Regions from separate parts of the Homo sapiens genome. Here regions 2, 3 and 4 are each linked to region 1. The links are contacts of gene promoters, found by promoter capture Hi-C in blood cells and fetal thymus (Javierre and others, 2016). All regions are on one chromosome and are shown on one strand. Each heading gives the region's core, a stretch centred on a gene start or on the middle of the fragment in contact. The rest is flanking DNA. Distances are from core to core; before and after follow the strand shown. Region 1 holds the start of TNKS (tankyrase). Region 2 has its middle 5.5 kb from the start of SNORD3I. Region 3 has its middle 37 kb from the start of PPP1R3B-AS1. Region 4 holds the start of LOC112268402 (a long non-coding RNA gene).

Evidence for each region. Contacts are between HindIII fragments. The CHiCAGO score rates a contact against its expected background, and 5 or more counts as called.
Region 2: a fragment that was not itself captured here is called in contact with the fragment with the promoter of TNKS in region 1 in 1 of 17 cell types (neutrophils); the score reaches 5.6 in neutrophils.
Region 3: a fragment that was not itself captured here is called in contact with the fragment with the promoter of TNKS in region 1 in 1 of 17 cell types (neutrophils); the score reaches 5.2 in neutrophils.
Region 4: a contact is called between a fragment that was not itself captured here and the fragment with the promoter of TNKS in region 1, in 1 of 17 cell types (neutrophils). The highest score is 6.3, in neutrophils.

What each region holds. Positions count from the first base shown.
Region 1 is chr8:9,553,294-9,558,495 of GRCh38, reverse strand. It overlaps TNKS (tankyrase), which reads right to left and starts at 2,584. Exons shown (of 27, transcript NM_003747.3): 1 at 1,884-2,584. The coding sequence starts at 2,556. RefSeq lists enhancers at 1,580-2,239, 2,240-2,901 and a silencer at 2,322-2,481. The HindIII fragment of the contact is 11,121 bases long and covers 1-5,202 here.
Region 2 is chr8:9,061,518-9,066,719 of GRCh38, reverse strand. It overlaps a transcript of ERI1 not described here. Among named protein-coding and RNA genes, the nearest start is that of SNORD3I, 5.5 kb to the right of the region's middle. RefSeq lists a silencer at 698-904. The HindIII fragment of the contact is 7,622 bases long and covers 1-5,202 here.
Region 3 is chr8:9,101,393-9,106,594 of GRCh38, reverse strand. No RefSeq gene overlaps it. Among named protein-coding and RNA genes, the nearest start is that of PPP1R3B-AS1, 37 kb to the left of the region's middle. The HindIII fragment of the contact is 1,631 bases long and covers 1,642-3,272 here.
Region 4 is chr8:9,130,804-9,136,005 of GRCh38, reverse strand. LOC112268402 (a long non-coding RNA gene) reads left to right here and starts at 1,187. Exons shown (of 3, transcript XR_007060803.1): 1 at 1,187-1,937. RefSeq lists a silencer at 1,933-2,227 and an enhancer at 3,857-4,357. The HindIII fragment of the contact is 6,685 bases long and covers 1-5,202 here.

The sequences.
Region 1 (5,202 bases), core at 1,335-3,834:
TTAAAATAGGCAAACTTGGAATAAAGTATGCAAAAGTAGACACCTCTGTTGATTAATAAAATCAGACTTAGGCCTTTCATTTAGCCTAAGGAAAAAGAAATGCTATTTCATCTAAAACAAGCAAGACCCTTGAGCAAACAAATAGGCAAAAGTCTGTTTCTGATTCAATTCACTGCATTCCTAATAAGTAGTGTCTGTATATCAATAATGAATCCAGTGACCTAACAATGATTTCCTTTAAGTGTTTCTCATACCACTGGTCACGACCCATTAATGGATCACAAGCAGCATTTGCTAAAAATGAAACAGAATAAAATATAAAATATCAGAGGACAACACATGTATTAAGGGAAAGTATTGTTTCCAGAAACTTTTGATTCAGTTGCGTATGTGACAATGTAAAATGTATTTCTAAGTATGGGCTACAATAAAAAACATGTGAAAGCTACTCTCTTGCATATAAGCCCCTCCGCATTACTACTTCTCCCAAAAATTGGGAACTCTACACTTCAATTACTCACAAAAATGAAAAGTGACCTTAATCCAGGGTTCTGACAGTTTAAGTTTGATTTCACAAGCTCTAAAATCAAACTGCCTGAATTCAAACTCAATTTCCACTATTTCCTGACTGAATTTGGACTTATTTAAGCGATCGATATATGCTTCACTTTTGTCATCTGTAAAATGGTTAATCATATCTCCCAAGTGTGGTAAAAATAAATACTACAGTGGGTCAACACATGTTTTACTGTTAACAGAACAAACTGAAGAAGTGATATATATATATATTAGAAATATAGGAGAAACTTAACAGAAGTTATCTCTGGTGTGTTATCTCTGATGTTTCTGTGTGATGCCTTTCATTTTGTATTTTTCTGTCCTATTTGAATTGTATAACGTACAATATATGTATTTCCAATATAATGTTTCTAATGTATAAAACATTATTACCTACATTTTTAAAATATCAACAATAGGTATCCAGGCAGTGAGATTATGGTCCTTTGTTTTTATTTTACAGTTCTCTTTATTTTATAAACATATTATTAGGTGTCTTTGAGAGAAAATCATCAACTACTTGCAAAAAAAAAAAAAAAGACAAGTGTGGGGTCCAGAGCTTAAGAAATTCACACTTTTTGAGGGAGAACTTTGTGCCAGATACTTCTCACCAAATGCTCGCACAACATCATTTTATGATTTTTGCCCATGAGAAAACTGAGGCAACTGACACGAGGTAAATGGTCTGCTAGACAACAAATAATAGTGGCCACAACATCAAAGCCTATATTTCTTCCATCATCATATAATGCATCCAAATATTCTTCTCCAGTTGTTTCACATTGGCATATTTTGGTCTCCCCGTCTAGACTGCAAACTTCTTTAGAAGAAGGGAAACTTTCAAACACTTCATTTATGTCTTTCATTGGGTTATTAAGGCTACAATAGATCCTCAAACATGTGTTGGGTTGTATTAAACCTCTTTTGGTCTGGACTGTCCTCAAAGGACATACCCTTGTAAAAACAAAATAAACTAGCACACAAACGACAAAACTACTCTAAAGCTGTCCAAATCTAACTGTATTCCTGCACACCAAAAACTAAAGTGTAAATATATCCATATGCAGAGACTACCAACTACAGTGAGTTTTGTAATGAGTACTGTGCAACCACTGAAGAATTCCTTGGATTCACTTATCCCCCCCAACCACGCCCCCATCACCCAGGCACCACCAAAAGAAAGGAACCTCCAGTCTTCTGGTGAGGTGATGAAGAACCATAACCACGCCCCCACTTTGTCCCATCACAATAACCTGTTTTCTTGTCCTAACCGGACCCTGCACCCAAACCCATAACCCTTAATAAACAATTCAAAAGTCTCTGACCTGCAGCGAAGTGCAGGGGAGAAGACTTCCGGCCGGCCATGTCCTTTGCATTTACGTTTGCCGCGTCCACCAGCCTCTTTACCCGGGACACGTCCCCATTGCGACAGGCCTCCAGCAGTTCCCGTAGGGCCCCGCTCACTGCTGGGACCCCTGTCCCAGGTCCTGCTGCCCCAGGCCCCAGTGGTGCTGTGCTGCTAACTCCGGCCGCCTCGGGGCTCTCCGCCAAGCTCGATCCAGGGGAGGATGGAGAGGAAGATGAGGAAGAAGTCGGGGAAGAAGAGGACGACGGTGAATTGTTACTGCCACTGCCGGCTGGGTTGGGAGCGACCCCAGCGGCAGATGAAGTAGAAACCGCTGGGACCACGGGAGCGGCGGCGACGGTACAGATTGTGCTGGTGGTACTGCAACAGCTGGTACCGTCAACCGGGTCCGGGGATCGGGGCCTGTCGGGCGGATCCCGACTGCCATCCCCCTCCGGCAGCGCTAGGCCGTGCCGCGGGGAGGCGAAGGGGGCCAGGCCGCTGGCCGTGGGAGAGGCTGGGGTGGTCCCCGGGGCCAGGCCAGGGCTGAGTGGGGGAGGAGGTGGCGGCGGCGGCGCTGAAGCCCCTGGGGCGGGCTGGAGCTGTTGTTGATGATGGTGGTGATGATGCTGAGAGCGACGCGACGCCGCCATCTTCGGACTCCCCTAGCACTGTCACTGCGGCAACGGCCCCCACCGCCCGCCCTCACTTCCGACTGTCGGACCAATCAGCATCCAGCGCACAGGAAATGATGCTAGGCGGGGTAGCAGGGGCCAAAGAGAAGGAGGGAAGTATTGGGAGCTCAGAGAACAGCCAAGGGAACGGGGCGGGGCTTTGTCACTGAGAGGCGGGCTTTGTGACGTGGTGGCGGGCCGGCTGGAGAGATTTGAATGCTGGAACCAGCTTCTGCCTAGATGGGAAACATTTCCTGCATTTCTCACTTTCAGTCGGCTTTCTTTGCCCTGCTCCGCTCTGTTTCCCTTAGTCTCCCTTTGCTTGCTCCAGAGCCAGCTGTTGAGATGCAGATCAGAGCAAGCAGGGAATGTGTCCGTTATCATCTATTAAGCGTCCTTGTCTGAAAAATGGAACTTATAGTACCAACCTCACAGAATTATTAGCGGGATTAAAAGAGCTAACAGACAAAGCGCTCTGCCAGTAAAACACAAGTATAATTAGCCCGTTGGTAATTTTTTAAATTATAGTATTTCTTTTCCAGGTGTCCCCTTGAGCTCTTGTCCCTTCCCTATAATTTTTCTCACCCTATGTGCTTTAATTCCTCGTTTTTAAATGCTGGTTCAGATTGCTAGGATTGGCGTTCCAGCTCTGCCATTTGTTGTTTATATATGTACTTGCTATTTCATCACTCTATGCCTGTTTTTCTCTGTAAAATTGAAATAACAATAGTGCAATAAGTGTGAATTATTAAAATTATGATTTTTTTTTCCTATTCTGCTCTCTCTGAAATTTTATTTTTCACCCTAAGTGTAACTAATTATGAATATATTCCTTTCTTTTGAATTCTGGCTTAGCTTAGCCTCTCCCACACCCGAAACAGATAAAAACCTGATTGCTAGGCTGGTCACGGTGGCTCATGCCTGTAATCCTAGCACTTTGGGAGGCCGAGGCCGGCGGGCCACTTGAGCCCGGGAGTTCAAGATCAGCCTGGCCATCACGGCGAAGCTCCATCTCTACAAAAAATACACAGATTAGCTGGGCAAAGTGGCACATGCGTGTAGTCCCAGCTACTCAGGAGTCTGTTGGGAGGATCACTTGAGCCCGGGAGGCAGAGGTTGCTGTGAGCCGAGGTCACACCACTGCACTCCAGCCTGGGTGACAGAGGGCGGAGACCCTGTCACAAAAACAACAAGAAAACATAACAAAAACCTGATTGCTGTCCATTACTCACCATCAGGTGCTATTTTTCAGCAACTGCTTTTTCTGTCTTTCCCCCAACCTATGTATACTTTTGTTTTTCTACTATCAAAAGATGTATCCATGAATGAGATAATCCCATTGAGGACTCCATTTCATACCTACTGTTCAATAGTAAAGCAGGCATTGTAGAAGTATACAGAAACAGCATTATTCCAATAGAGTGGACACAGATGGAAATTCTGTAAGAGAAACAAGATTTAGATGAGTCAAGCAGAATATTAAACTAGGTGATAAATTGTTTCATGTGTTCATTGTTAAATATGATTTATGTGATGTTAATATTCCCATTTAAGTAAATAGATGAGTTTATTTGGGGTTAGTAAGTAAATACAATAAGGTCAGGAACATAATTAGTATTACGAGTGGCATTTATTTTCATCTAATCTGGGGTTACAGATTATAATTCTTAACATTATCCAGCTGTGTGATGAAATGTGCCATTGTTCGCAGTAGACACCGGACAAAAAGTGTAGCTGGATAGGAAAACTCACATCAGTGCAACTAAAATCAGTCCACAACATTCTTCTTCATGCTTCTGTTTTTTAATCTTAACTTCTTGATGTACAGCAGAGAACCATTGAGAAGTGGGAGTGATCCAACATGATATGTTAGATATCCATAACACACCATGTGTCCCCTAAATAATGGCCTCCTGGAATGGGAGGCATAAGAAATATCTCATCTGGTCTCCCAGTGGTCAGTTACTCATAGAAAGTAGTGATGTTCAGACTTATTCAAAATGCATCTGTTGTGTCTATCAGTACAAAAAATAATAATAACAATAAAATAAGGAAGTCTCTGCTGGACAGAGATTTTTAAAAACTAAATTGCCGGCCAGGCCCAGTAGCTCACACCTGTAATCCCAGCACTTTGGGAGGCCAAGGTGGGCAGATCACGAGGTCAGGAGTTCCAGACCAGCCTGGCCAACATGAGGAAACCCCATCTCTACTAAAAATACAAAAATTAGTTGGGCGTGGTGGTGCGCGCCTGTAATCCCAGCTACTGCGGAGGCTGAGGCAGGAGGATGGCTTGAACCCAGGAGGCAGAGGTTGCAGTGAGCCGAAATCGTGCCACTGCACTCCAGCCTGGGTGGCAGAGCAACATTGTCTCAGCAAAACAAACAAACAAACAAAAAACAAAAAACTAAATTGCCTGAAACTGGACTGGAAAACCATGTCTGGAAATGCATTCAATCAACTGGAAATTGCTTTCTTCCCCTCGAGCAGAAAGTAGGAAAAGTACTTAACATTAAGTATTTATGAAGTTTGGGTTTATACCGACTAATGTTGAGCTCCAAACATGAAAGGACACATGCTATTACCTAATCTTCTGTGGCTAAACACAATTCCAGGAGGAATGCACTA
Region 2 (5,202 bases), core at 1,235-3,734, 490 kb after region 1:
TTTCTTTTAAATTTCAGGTAAGAAAATAGAATACTTAAAATGTTAAGTATGTCCCTTCCTTTAAAAACAATGACCGGCACTCATAACTGAACATTCCTTGAATAACAAAATGTCCTACATCTTCACAAAATCATGCATCTGATTCCTTTCTGCCTGTCATTTGTCACCCTCCTTCACCGTGCCCAACAACCCAAAGGCCAGGTGAACACAAAATCAAATCACTGCCAGTGTTGGTGAGTTCAAAAGTCATCAGGTGCCCACTGGCCGCTCTGAAAAGCCATCTTTGCATTGTCCCCATTTTATTGGCAGAGTCCTCAAACTCTTGCTTTCTTCTTATCCAACACATGGGATCACCGGGGAGCCCGCTGTGTCACAGACATCCATCTGTGGACACCAACTCTGAGATGACCACCAACCACTTAAAGGAGAAGAAACAAGTTGTGCAGGTGGAGAAAGGGGAAGAGATGCCCCTGCTAGTGGGAACCCCAATGAAGAAAATGGGGAGATGAGGCTGACGATAAGGAGGACAAAGAAGAGGAAGAAGGTGGGGAGGAAGAGGAGGAGGAAGAAGGTGGAGGCAAGGAAGAGGGTGGAGATGAATGAAGAAGCTAGAGCCCCTGGTGGCAAACAGGGCACTGCAGATAGAGAAGATAGTGGTGTTGATATCGCAAAGCAGAAGATGAGGAGGATAGCCAGGCAGCAGAAAAGTCAAAGAAAAAAAAGGCGGCCGTGACCTATTCACCCTCCACTTCCCTTCTCATAAACTAGACATGGTCACCTTGGAGAGAGAGGCCCAGCCACTGCCGACAGCGCCACCTGCTGGTGACACACTCTCCACCACCCACCCAAAACCACAACATGAGTTTGCAACAGGAGAGGAAAAAGGAATCAAAACTTCCAAGGCCCTGCTTTTTATTTTTATTTTTTTAAGTAATTTTAAAAGGAGATTTGTTAGTATTTTTTAGTTTCCTTTTATATTTTTGCACGTATTGTCAGGAGTCAGCCTTTTTTTTTTTTTTTTTTTTGAGATGGAGTCTCGCTCTGTTGCCCAGGCTGGAGTGCAGTGCTGCGATCTCAGCTCACTGCAAGCTCCGCCTCCCGGGTTCATGCCATTTTCCTGCCTCAGCCTCCCGAGTAGCTGGGACTACAGGCGCCCCCCACTACGCCTGGCTAATTTTTTGTATTTTTAGTAGAGACGGCGTTTCACCACGTTAGCCAAGATGGTCTCGATCTCCTGACCTCGTGATCTGCCTGCCTCAGCCTCCCAAAGTGCTGGGATTACAGGTGTGAGCCACTGCGCCCAGCTGGCAGTCAGCCATTTTTAATGATCTCAGGTGATCAAACCAGCCTACTGAGCATCCTCTGCCTTACTTCTGACTTTACTTGTGGTGTGACCAAGTTCATCATCACCTCAAAGAACAAAAGAAACCTCGTAGAAAGAAGCAAAAACAACTAAACAATCTTATTCTGAGCATTCCAGTAACTTTTTTTGTACATGCACTTAGCTGTACTATAGATAGTTGGTGTCAGGCCTCTGAGCCCAAGCTAAGCCATCATATCCCCTGTGGCCTGCACGTACACATCCAGATGGCCGGTTCCTGCCTTAACTAATGACATTCCACCACAAAAGAAGTGAAAATGGCCTGTTCCTGCCTTAACTGATGACATTATCTTGTGAAATTCCTTCTCCTGGCTCATCCTGGCTCAAAAGCTCCCCTACTGAGCACCTTGTGACCCCCACTCCTTCCTGCCAGAGAACAACCCCGCTTTTTCCTTTACTTACCCAAATCCTATAAAACAGCCCCACCCCTGTCTCCCTTCGCTGACTCTCTTCTCGGACTCAGCCCGCTTGCACCCAGGTGAAATAAACAGCCCTGTTGCTCACACAAAGCCTGTTTGGTGGTCTCTTCACATGGATGCGCATGAAATTTGGTGCCATGACTCGGATCAAGGGACCTCCCTTGGGAGATCAATCCCCTGTCCTCCTGCTCTTTGGTCCGTGAAAAAGATCCACCTAGGACCTCAGGTCCTCAGACCCACCAGCCCAAGGAACAACTCACCAATTTTAAATTGGGTAAGCAGCCTCTTCTTACTCTCTTCTCCAACCTCTCTCACTATCCCTCAACCACTTTCTCCTTTCAATCTTTGCACCACCCTTCAATCTCTCACTTCTCTTAATTTCAATTCCTTTCATTTTCTGGTAGAGACAAAGGAGACACGTTTTATCCGTGGACCCAAAACTCCGGTGCCAGTCACGGACTAGGGAAGGCAGCCTTCCCTTGGTGTTTAATCATTGTAGGGACGCCTCTCTGATAATTCACCCATGTTTCAGAGGTGTCTGACCACTCAAGGACGCCTGCCTTTGTCCCTCACCCTTAGCGGCAAGTACCGCTTTTCTGGGGTGCAAGAACCCCCCAACTCCTTCTCTCCATGTCTCCACCCCTTCTCTGCTTTTCTGGGGGGCAAGAAACCCCCCCAACCCCCCTTCTCCTTCACCCTTAGCGGCAAGTATCGCTTCTCTAGGGGGCAAGAACCCCCCGATCCCTTATTTCCATGCCCCGATCTCTTATCTCTGTGCCCCAATCCCTTATTTCCATGCCCCGACCTCTTATCTCTGCACCCTGACCCCTTATTTCCACACTCCAACCTCTTATCTCTGTGCCCCAACCCCTTATTTACACACCCCAACCCCTTTCCTGCTTTTCTGGAGGGTAAGAACCCCTGAACCCCTTCCCTCCGTGTCTCTACTCTCTCTTTTCTCTGGGCTTGCCTCCTTCACTATGGGCAACCTTCCACCCTCCATTCCCCCTTCTTCTCCCTTAGCCTGTGTTCTCAAGAACTTAAAACCTCTTCAACTTACACCTGACCTAAAACCTAAATGCCTTATTTTCTTCTGCAATGCCACTTGACCCCAGTATAAACTCTACAGTGGTTCCAAATAGCCAGAAAACGGCACTTTCAATTTTTCCATCCTACAAGATCTAAATAATTCTTGTTGTAAAATGGGCAAATGGTCTGAGATGCCCGATGTCCAGGCATTCTTTTACACATTGGACCCTCCCTAGTCTCTGTTCCCCATGCAACTCATCCCAAATCTTCCTTCTTTCCCTCCCGCCTGTCCCCTCAGTCCCAACCCCAAGCATCGCTGAGTCTTTCTAATCTTCCTTTTCTACAGACCCATCTGACCTCTCCCCTCCTTGCCAGGCCGAGCTAGGTCCCGATTCTTCCTCAGCCTCCGCTCCTCCACCCTATAATCCTTTTATCACCTCCCCTCCTCACACCCGGTCTGGCTTACAGTTTCATTCCATGACTAGCCCTCCCCCACCTGCCCAGCAATTTCCTCTTAAAAAGGTGGCTGGAGCTAAAGGCATAGTCAAGGTTAATGCTTTTTCTTTATCTGACCTCTCCCAAATCAGTTAGTGTTTAGGCTCTTTTTCATCAAATATAAAAAACCCAGCCCAGTTCATGGCCCCTTTAGCAGCAACTCTGAGACGCTTTACAGCCCTAGACCCTAAAAGGTCAAAAGGCCGTCTTATTCTCAATATACATTTATTTTATTACCCAATCTGCTGCCGACATTAAATAAAGCTCCAAAAATTAAATTCCGTCCCTCAAACCCCACAACAGGACTTAATTAACCTGGCCTTCAAGGTGTACAATAATAAAGTAGAGGCAGCCAAGTAGCAACATATTTCTGAGTTGCAATTCCTTGCCTCCACTGTGAGACAAACCCCAGCCACATCTCCAGCACACAAGAACTCCAAACACCTGAACCGCAGCTGCCAGGGGTTCCTCCAGAACCTCCTCCCCCAGGAGCTTGCTACAAGTGCCAGAAATCTGGCCACTGGGCCAAGGAATGCCCACAGCCCGGGATTCCTCCTAAGCCACGTCCCATCTGAGCGAGACCCCACTGAAAATCAGACTGTTCAACTCACCTGGCAGCCACTCCCAGAGCCCCTGGAACTCTGGCCCAAGGCTCTCTGACTGACTCCTTCCCAGATCTTCTCAGCTTAGCGGCTGTAGACTGACACTGCCGGATTGCCTCGGAAGCCTACAGGACCATCACAGATACTCTGATTAACTCTCACAGTGGAGGTTAAGTCCGTCCCCTTCTTAATCAATACGAAGGCTACCCACTCCACATTACCTTCTTTTCAAGGGCCTGTTTCCCTTGCCTCCATAACTGTTGTAAGTATTGACAGCCAGGCTTCTAAACCTCTTAAAACTCCCCAACTCTGGTGCCAACTTAGAAAACATTCTTTTTTGCACTCTTTTTTAGTTATCCCCACCTGCCCGGTTCCCTTATTAGGCCAAGACATTTTAACTAAATTATCTGCTTCCCTGACTGTTCCTGGACTACAGCCACACCTCATTGCTGCCCTTTTCCCCAGTTCAAAGCCTCCTTCGCATTCTCCTCTCGTATCCCCGCACCTTAACCCACAAGTATAAGATACCTCTACTCCCTCCTTGGCGACTGATCATGCACCCCTTACAATCTCATTAAAACTTAATCACCCTTACCCACTCAATGCCAATATCCTGTCCCACAGCACGCTTTAAAAAGATTAAAGCCTGTTTTCCCTCACCTGCTACAACATGGCCTTTTAAAGCCTATAAACTCCCCTTACAATTCCCCCATTTCACCTGTCCTAAAACCAGACAAAGTTTACAGGTTAGTTCAAGACTGTGCCTTATCAACCAAATTGTTTTGCCTATCCACCCCGTGGTGCCAAAACCATATACTCTCCTATCCTCAATGCCTCCCTCCACAATCCATTATTCTGTTCTGGATCTCAAACATGCTTTCTTTACTATTCCTTTGCACCCTTCATCCCAGCCTCTCTTCGCTTTCCCTTGGACTGACCCTGACACCCATCAGGCTCAGCAAATTACCTGGGCTATACTGCTGCAAAACTTCACGGACAGCACCCATTACTTCAGTCAAGCCCAAATGTCTTCCTCATCTGTTACCTATCTCGGCATAATTCTCATAAAAACACACATGCTCTCCCTGCTGATCATGTCTGGCTAATCTCCCAAACCTCAATCCCTTACAAAACAACAACTCCTTTCCTTCCCAGGCATGGTTAGTGCGGTCAGAATTCTTACAAAAGAGCTGGGACAGCACTGTGTAGCCTTTCTGTCCAAACAACTTGACCTTACTGTTTTAGCCTAGCCCTCATGTCTGCGTGCAGCGGCCGC
Region 3 (5,202 bases), core at 1,208-3,707, 450 kb after region 1:
GAGACCAGCCTGGCCAAGATGGTGAAACCCCATCTCTACTAAAAATACAAAAATTAGCTGGGCATGGTGGTGGGTGCCTGTAATCCCAGCTACTCAGGAGGCTGAGGCAGGAGAATCACTTGAACCCAGGAGGCGGAGGTTGCAGTGAGCTGAGATTGTGCCACTGCACTCCAGCCTGGGCAACAGAGCAAGACTCCATCTCTCTCTTTATATATATATACAAATTAAGACTAAGATAATATATTATTCACAGGCCCTCAATGAAAAAGAGTATATTTTCTAAAGAAGAAAACTGAACCCAAGTGGAAAGAATCAGATACAAGAAGCATTGGAATCTTAATCAAAAACAACATGACAATAAATGTGCAAAACAAGGGTTGGGGCAGTGGTCTCAGGGATTTGTTTCACTTTTCCACACACTTAGGGGCAGGGGATGGTTTGGGGATGAAACTGCTCCACCTCAGATCATCAGAGATTAGATTCTTATAAGAAGCGTGTAGCCTACATCCCTCACATGTACAGTTCACAATAAGGCTCAAGCTCCTATGAGAATGGAATGCTGCTGCTGATCTGACAGGAGGCAGAGCTCGGGCAGTAATGCGAGTGATGAGAAGCGGGTGTCAATACAGATGAAGCTTCTGACTGCTGCTCACCTCCTGCCCTGTGGCCCAGTTCCTAATAGGCCATGAACCAGTACCAATCCATGGCCTGGGGCTGGGGGATCCCTGAGTTAGGGGACTTGGAGGGCTTTTATGGAAAGAAATAGTTGAAATGCATACACTTTGACCTTCAAGAGACTCTGTACTATGTGAGGCTGGATGTGAGCCTGGCTCTAGCAGAGGGCTCCTTTGGTGACTAAGTGTAAAGTAAAGATGTTAAGGCGGATGCTTAATCCTCTGACCCTGCTGCACTTTTTTCTTAGAACTTCTCATTACCTGGCATGGTACTGGTTCATGCCAGTACTGTGCTTTATTTGTTTCTTGACTTTCTCTCCTATTATAATGTCCATGAGGAGTTGGACATGTTGGTGAATGCCTGTAACCCCAGTTACTTGGGAGGCAGAGGTGGGAGGATTGCCTGAGCCCAGGAGTTGGAGGCTGGAGTAAACAATGATTGTACTGCTGCACTCCAGCCTGGGCAACAGAGCAATACCCTGTCTCTAAGAAATAAGTAAATAAATAACTTCTATGAGGGCAAGGACTTTGTCTATTGTGTTCCCTGGCCTGGCGCATAATTAGTGCTTACATATGATTGAACACAAGAAAGGGAAAAAATTGTGCAGGGTTTCAAATGTATGGGGTGCAGACTTTCTTCTATGGGGAACAGGTGGGACGAGACTAAGGAAAATAACCAGCATTTCTGAGTGTCCACCAGGTCCTGGGCTATACACACAACATATTATCTTATTTTGCATGGATTGTGGAACAGCAAAAAGCATCTATTAGTGATCAAAATGAACTGGACTTCCAATTTGATTTAAAACACAAGCCAAGAATATTTTATTAATCTCAATTCATTGTTTTTAGATGTTACTGTGTATTTCCAAGGGAGATGTGAGCTTTGAGCTTATGTCTAATGCAATATCATGTGTCCGACTGAGGCAGCGGAGATAAGCTCCTGCTCTGTGTTCCTGCTAAAGCTTTCATACTCTGGCATGGCCACACTCAACACCACTTAATGATCTAGTCATTCCAGTTTTCTAACACCTGCCTGGATAGACCCCAGGCTGCAAAAACCCTGAAATTCCGGTTCTAACAACAAATCACTGAAAATCAGAAGGCCCCACCTTGAGCTCACAGCCAGCTCCACCTCCTTGAAGACGGGAGGCCCCTCATGCTCTGTGTTCTTAATGGCACCAGGAAGATCCCCTCCTGGGGCCTCTTGAGGTTAATTGTCTGCAGTAGAGATGTTGAAGCCAGAGAGACTCTCAAATTCTGATGCCTCTACCCCACGCCACCCCTACCAGCAAACTGTAGCCAGTTTCAGATGTACCCTGACCGGAATAGTTCTTTCCATGAATGGCGTCGGACACTGTGTCCTCACTCAAAGTCCCGATGGCATGAGGGTGACCTTGTACACACAGGATCCAGGGCAAAGAACAAGACGTATTCCCAGTCCTCACCTACAGCCAACACGTGACCTAAGAAGACCTTTTGGAGAACAGCCTGAGCAGCTGGGCAGCCATATAGAAAACTGCTAGCTGTGCATCTACAGGCTGATGGAACAATCACGACCTGTCCTCATGGAGAAGCGTCCGAGGTGTGGCCCCATGTTCCTGCCACACTGCATTGACTCTTTCTCCAATGGAGTCTCGGGTACTCTTCCTTTCTGCCTTTTCTGGTATTTGCAATCTCCACCTTCACCACTTGCTTCTTTCCCCGGGGTTGAAACAAGTTCACAAATGAACACATAAATAAACCCTTCCTCTTTCCCCTGTACATCTCCTTACTCTATCATCACCCACTCTCCCTGAATTTGTGCCCGAAATAACCCCTGCTGCTGACAGCCCCCAAGAGCAGCCCAGTCGACTTATCCAAGGGTCCTTTCTTCTTCCTTTGAACATAACTTTAAATAAGTCTTTTGTCCTAGATAGCACGCTCTAGAAGTACAAGGAGTACATCTTAGACTTCTTGTTAACCCCGAGCTTTGTACGCAGCAGGTGCTCACAATTGCTAGAAGGGATGGAGAGAAAAAGGGATTGATTCAGAAAATGATGTCACTGCAGGCAGTATTCTTTCAAAGGAGTGAGTTTCTGAACTTGTAGACCTTGAAGAAATTGTAAAGGATCTGATTTCAGACCCAGTGGAAGCTGCAAGAACAATGTGGTTTCGAGTTCTGCTGTTTCATTATCCCGGGTTGATTCAGCTGGCTGGGCGGGTGCCCTCTTTTCTCTCTAGGAGCTCCAGCTGCCCCTCCAAGCCCCTCTTCTGGCCTGGCATTCCCCAGCCTGCAGTGAAGGTCAGAGCAGATCCTACCGTATTCAGAGAAGTAGGAAACGCGAGCTTGAATCTTCTTCAGTGTTCTCAAGAGAGTGAGATATTGGCAAGCACCTGTTTTCTCAGCACTGAGAAAAGGGATCAGGGATTGGTGAGTGGAAGACACTAATTCAAGTAATGAAGGGCTTTTGCTCTCATTTTGACAAGATGAAAAACCACACAATAATTTATGAACCACGCAGGCAACTTTTAATCACCACGATTACTATAGACAGGCAAGGGCAGTGTTGATAGGAGTGTGGGAGAGAGCTTCCTGGAGGAGGTGAGGTGGAAGCTTCTCCTGGTGCAATGTGCAGTGTGGGAACAATGTCCAAGAACCATGGTTTGCAGGTCTGTGGCATGACCTAAAGGCTTTGGAAGGCCCCAGAAGACAAAAGCACATGTCAAAGCTACAGACACTTTGCAGTTCCTTTCAAAGGGCTCACAGGATGGAAATGGAGTCAGCGAGAGGGGCATCTACCATGCTGTTAAACGGAGAAGAGAGGTTTGGAGATTTGGGGACTGGGCTTTTGCACACCAGGGACAAAGCATGAGTGCAGCTTGTGATAAGAATTGATTTCTTCCCGGCCCCAGTCACCCCTGCTTTTGGTGATAGTTTCCATTTAAAACCGAATTCCTATGAAAGGAGCGCGGGGGCCTGCCCCGTGCCTGCGACCTGGGGTGGAGCAGACAAACACTGAAAAAGGGCTGACATGTATGGATGCCTCTGGTGATAGCAGTGGTTATATTTAGTCCCAAGCTCAAGTTAAACAGGGGGCCTCCTGCAATATGTATGAAGAGAGCACCAAGAGCAAACACAAGTGCAGGGCCAGTAAAAATAAAAGAGCAAAGTGCAAGACTCGAAAGAGTAAATATGCACAGGCTCTGGCCCCAAGATATGCCAGGTGGGTGGAGCTAGACACTGTGAACAGGGCCAGGAGAGCCAGTGCCACTGCAGAGGGGCCCCTTCCCATTGTCAAGTGCTCATAGTGAGTACAACAAATCCTCCAAGGCCTCCTGCCTTTACCATCCACTCTCCAGCTGCATGCTTAAGAAAAGGCTGGGAAATAATCATCCTGGGTCCCAGTTTCTTCATCTATAAAATGAGAGGACCGAGATGCAAAAAAAACAAATTCCTCTCCTGCATTAGGATTTTTCCAACTCACCTTACTAGCTGCCTGGAAAGGTGTGAGGCTGAATGACACCTCCTTTGTTCTCCAAACACTGTTGACATAGTGACCCAACTGTTAGTTATCTTGATCATGTCCTCTAAGGGATCAACTGAGCAAAGAGCCAAAGAACCCACTTTTTTTTTTTTCTTTTTCAGAACTAGAGTTGATCTACTTTCAAGTTTAACAGCTCAGCTCCTAAAGGAAAATCTGACTCTCTGTGTAGCAGCAATACACTGGGCTGGCAGCCTCTTATAGCACCTTGAAGCATATTAGAAAAAGTTACTCTATCCAGGTAGGCAGAGTCTTCAGGGCCCCCAGCTTGGTGAAGGGAGCTCAAGCTGCATCTCGTCACCTCCCCACCCCAACCCTCTCCACTCAACCCTTGGCCGGCACTTCCGTGGGGCAGAACCTACACAATCCTACACCTTAATATAGCAGCTGGCTGTCAGTCAAAGTCAGGAAGGTTTATTTTCTTGATGCCTGTTCCTTGCTTACAGGGCCTCTTTTTCATGTCCACTCAACTGTCTGGATTCTTCTGCTTTTTGTTTCATGTACTCTCCTTTCTCTCTGACGTGTCATCTCCATACAAGTAAGCATGAAGTTGGTGCAAAAGTAATTACTTTCAATGGCAAAAGCCGCAATTACTTTTGCACCAACCTAATAATAGCGTGATAACACACAGATTCACAAAACAGGTCATACTTTTATTCACCAGTCTAGGCTGTACCTTCCTGAAAGTCAGGGACATGGTTTATCTGAGCAAAACGCTTGACCCATAGTGGATATTCAGTAAATACTGTTGAATGAATGAAAAACAATCTCCCAGTGGTTCTAAATTGCCTTTGAATCATGGATTTCTTTGAAATCTGATGGAAGCCAGGGTGATATGATTTTGCTCTGTGTCCCCACCCAAATCTCATCTCGAATTGTAATCCCCATGGGGAGGGGCCTGGTGGGAGGTGATTGGATCAAGGGGGTGGTTTCCCCTAGGCTGTTCTCCTGATAGTAAGTGAGTTCTCACGAGATCTGATGGTTTAAAAGTGTGGCACTTCCCC
Region 4 (5,202 bases), core at 1,944-4,443, 420 kb after region 1:
GTCATTTGCACTTGAAGTACAGTGCAGACAGACGTATTCAAACAAAAGCAGGAAAACTATAAATGGCTACCATAGCTTTTAACTGCTTGAGCAAACAAACTAAGCAGCAAAACAAAACAGCCCCGGATAGGTAGCGGATAGTCACCCTAAGTGAGATTTCCAGAGCTGCTTTTTTCCAAAGTTCAGGACAAGATGCAGGCAGAGTGGGGGTGGGAAGCTGCATCTAGAAGTTCCATGTCAACAAGTCCTCTGCCACCCTGGGGAAGTGGGCGGTGGCTCCAGTGGAAAGGCAGAGTGTATTAAAGTTTAGCAGCTAGTGTGTAGATGCAAAAAGTGAGCTCCGTACGTAACTTTCTCCAGATTTTTACACTCTGCCCACAACTTGCCTTCACAGACATAGGAAGGGTGGAGACGTTAACTCTGGCTTTCGTGAATGTCTATTTGAGGTTCAGTGAGGTTTTAATAATCATTACCTAATCATAAGTTGTGAGACCAACACCTCAGGAATGTCTGGAATAAAAATAAGAAAAAAACACTTTTCTAGAGCAATGTCTCCAGAATGGCAAATGTCCAGCTCTGAGTAATTCAATTGAACATTTACCACTCAGCTTCCATATACAAAGCAGTGCCAGGTGCTTTTCCCACAACCCCCACAGAGGACATTCACATATTCCGGGTGACGCCTCTGGTGAGCATGGAGAGCCACTGGAAGGTATTGGAATTCAGGAAGTCTGGCTTCCAATCCAAGCTCTGCCACCGACCTCTTTGGCTTCCCATCTCCTGTCAGTGGCTCTACTGAAGGGGCCCTGAGCATGTTTAGTAGGAATAAGGTAACCAGGGGCTCTAGCAGTGCCCTGAATGCTTTTGAGAGTCAGCCAACATGTTCATTTTTAAGAGGTTTCTAAATATAGACTCTCATAAGAAGTACCTTGTACACTATTTGTGTCCTCTCCAGGAATCACGGGAGTGAATCACATTCCAGACACTTGCTTGGACTTCATCACATCCTCAGTGACTGGGCTGGAAGAAATATCACAGAGCTCTCTTTTTATGGGTAAAGAGAGGAAGGTGGCTGGGCACAGTGGCTCACATCTGCAATCCCAGCACCTTGGGAGGATAGCTTGAGGCTAGGAGTTCGAGACCAGCCTGGGCAACATAGTGAGACCCCATCTCTTAAAAAAAAAAAAATTTAATAGCTGGGTGTGGTACCGTGTCTGTATACCAGCTGTTCAGGGGGCTGAGGCAGGAAGATGACTTGAATCAGGAGTTCGAGGCTTCAGTGAGCTGTGATTGTACCACTGCTCTCTAGGCTGGGCAACAGTGTGAGACTCTGTCACCAAAAAAAAAAAAAAAAAAAAACAAAGAAAGAGCGAGAGAGTGAGAGACAAAGGCCCTGAGTGAGTTTCTTCAAGTCCCAGAGCCCATCAGTGACTGAGCCAGGAGGACGACATAAGTCTTTGTTCCAAGAACTGTCCCTGTGAACCAGAATCAATCTCATAGAACTGAGAGACCAAGATGATGATTCTCAAAAGTTGTCCCCCATGCTGGAGAGATACAGTTTCCAGGAAAGGAGTGAACATAATCATTTTTCTACAGGAAAAGCTGCATTCCTCCCAAGGGCTTCCTCAGCACGTACTAGGACCACAGACCGTGTAGAAGTATGAAAGTTAGAATGAAATGATGTGGGTCTACGAGGGCCTGATTAAACCTCAGGCTAAATTGGTGGAAGGAAACCACCAAGGAACCGTGGCTGCAGGGGCATTCCAGGAGAGAGGCCGAATTCTTGGCCGCAGCATTCCCTTCCACCAGAATAGAAACCCTGTGTGGCACGGAAAGGCTTTAAGTAAACCTCATTCCTTCTTGTCACCTCCCCTTGGAGGAGAAGAGAGAGAGGGAAACTCAACAGATGCCTTTTGCTTTCTGCATGGGATTCTCTGGTAAGTGACATGCTTGCATTGATGTTGTTCATTCCACAAACACTACTTTGCCTCTCTAGCACTGGGGGACCCGGGGCTGGGCCTTGGATTTGGCAAAGGTAGGATGAGGATACAGAATCGTCAAAATTCTCTGGGGCCAAAGGCATCAATAATGATCCAAGATCTCAGCCCTCTACCCAAAGCTACAAGATCAAGTGGCCGGGTTGGGGGTCGGCAACCTTTTCCTGTAAAGAACTAGGTAGTGAATGTTTTAGGTTTTGCGGGCCACTTGTGGTCTCTGTCACATATTTGTTTTTATTTAAATGCCCTTTAAAAATGTAAAAACCGTTCTTAGCTCGTGGGCCATACTAAAGCAGGACCAGGGCAGACTTTGTCCCTCAGGCCATGGTTCGCCAGCCCCAAGCAAGAGTCACATAGGAAGAGAATTGAGAGCCGACTTGCTGAAGTCTTGAGGCCGCAGGTTATTTTCAGTGGCTTGCTTTCTTTTCTTTTTAAGATGATCATATAATTTATGATCTAAACTGGGACGCTTTCGAGAATGAATGAGGCTCCTGTGAGTTAGCCAGGAGCACCCGGTGTACACTAGGAACACCTTGGGCAAACCTGACAGCACGATCCCTGTCCGAGCTCACCTCTCCTCTGGGATCTTCTTAGACCTCTCCAGAGCTCGGAAAGACCAGGCTGGTCTTGTGCCGGGAATCAGTTCTGGCTGGATTGTGCTCTTTTTGGATGGGTTATCATGGAGTGGTGATTTAGTCTGTGGTTTAGATTTGTTTTTATCGCTTGGTTTTCTTTCCTAATTGTAGTGCTGGTGGCCAAAAGCCCTCTGGAAATTTCAGCCAATTCACTCTTAACAGTAGCTTCTTTAGGAGGAAAGGGGTGATTCATGGTTTGGGCTTATTTCCTACCAGTGCTTTTCCTCCACCTCTCCCCCGTGCCCAACAAATCGAGGCTGGCCAGGCTCCCGAGGAAGCTGCTCATTGTGGACAGAGACATTGAGGTCGGATCTTGCAGTATTCCAAAACCCAAGTCCCCAGAAAGTAACATCAAAGCGCTCCTAGGAATTTAACTAACTCCAGGGTCTCAGCTCATCTTTCTCTAGCCCAGCAAGTTCAAGAGGCCTTAATTAAGCACCGCAGGAGACCAAGGAGGTAGAAATTCATCTCTGAAGTGCTCTCTCTGGGCCCTGGCCCTGAAGACCCCCTGCTTTCCTGGTGGCACCACGAGGGGCAGGCACACATGCTCTTCCATTTCACCTCTGTTGCCTCCTCCCGCTGGTATTTACCGTTACTCCCATGCTGAAGGTGGGTCTGTAATGCCGAGGACCCTAACATTAGTGCTGAAGGGTCCTGGAAAGGCTTCAGGAATCCCCAGACATATCAAAGTGGAACTCTTCACCACCAGAGGAGGGTTAGTTTTCCAGCATCCATCCGAATATCACACATCACCACCTGCACTGCTAGAGCTGATCAGGAAGAAAAACCGGTCACTGCTTCAGACGGGCTCCCTTCCAGAGTCACTGTGTGGATTGCCTTCTGGTCAACATCTTGGTCTCATCTGAGTGTGGAATTAGCCAGTTGAAATTTCACTGATTTTATTATCATTACACCATTTTATTATAAATTATTATATTAATTCTTCATCATTAGTCAATTATTTATTGAACCTATTACTGAAAGAATTCTCCTAATTTTTGTTTTTTGTTTTTGTTTTCACATAGAGTCTCACTCTGTCACCCAGGCTGGAGTGCAGTGGCACAATCTTGGCTCACTGAAACTGCCACCTCCCATCTCCCAAATATTTTCATAAGATCTTTTTGAACACTGCTTTGCACGTTTGCTCATGCAACTAAGTGTTTGTTCACACAAATTTTCCAGGGGCTTTTCTCATCAATTGATCAATCACCTCACCACCTTGGGCTCTCGTCGCTTCTATTGGTCACACACTATATTACACACACAGACTTTGAAAACAAACATTTTTTAAACAGTATTTTCTCCAGAAAAAAGTCCCTCTCATCCTGGTTGATTTTCCCACTTTGAAATGTCATGGCTTTGCCCCAGGCCTTCTGTAAGGCAGGACACACTCTGTCCTCCCTGGGCAAGCAACACTGAATAAGTGACATTCTGCTGTCAGTGGCAGAAGCCAGACAGACAATGACAGGGGGCACTCATTCCAGCCCTCCAGGACACCACTCACGCCTCATCTCAGCCTCTGCACTCCCTCCACCAGACAGGGAATGCAGAGGCCCAGGTCTCCAGCTGCAACCTCAGTCCTGTGCAGCTGAACTCAGACATGAGCCGCTGGTGGTTTTCTAACATTTTATGAAGACATGGAATGTGTTCTTAAATCAAATCCAATGTGAAGCCATGGACAAGTAGGTAGAAAACAGGGCCGGGCGCGGTGGCTCATGCCTGTCATCCCAGCAATTTGGGAGGCTGAGGCGGGCGGATTACGAGGTCAGGAGATCGAGACCATCCTGGCTAACATGGTGAAACCCCGTCTCTACTAAAAAATGCAAAAAAATTAGCCAGGCGTGTGGCGGGCTCCTGTAATCCCAGCTACTGAGGAGGCTGAGGCAGGAGAATGGCGTGAACCCGGGAGGCGGAGCTTGCAGTGAGCCGAGATTGCACCGCTGCACTCCAGCCTTGGGGCCACAGAGCAAGACTCCGTCTCAAAAAAAAGAAAGAAAAAGAAAAAAAAGAAAATAGGCCGCCCAAGATAGAAATCGCACCCATTTCCCCCCTCCCTGAAGCATCTCCTGAGAGCCCTAGGGCCCCAGAAATACGGGTGTAAACCCTTTCCTTCCCACACAGGAATTCCACTCTCCCGCCTCCTAGGCTAATGAATGTGGTTGAAGGATATCCTATAGAAAAAGGCAAAAGCAAGTGAACAAGCAAAACCTGCATGGGAAGGAAACACAGCTGTGGACCCCAAAATAAATGTGGACTCTGGTTATGTTTTCCTTCTGTTCTCAAGGATACGTATCATGTCCTTTCACAAAAAAAAAAATTGGCTTGTTCACACAGAACCACACTTGAGCTGCCTATTATATATATGTGATTTATATTTACATTCATACATTAAACTGCTTGACAGGGCAACGTCTATTCCACACTAATATAACACATAAGACAAAATTATTGAGTGCCTCTATGGGCAAGGGTATGACTGGGAATAAGTACTCTATGGGCATGTAGAAAGAGATAGCATGTCATTGTCACCAAGCTATTTAGAATCCTCCAATAGTTACTTTAGTCTTTGC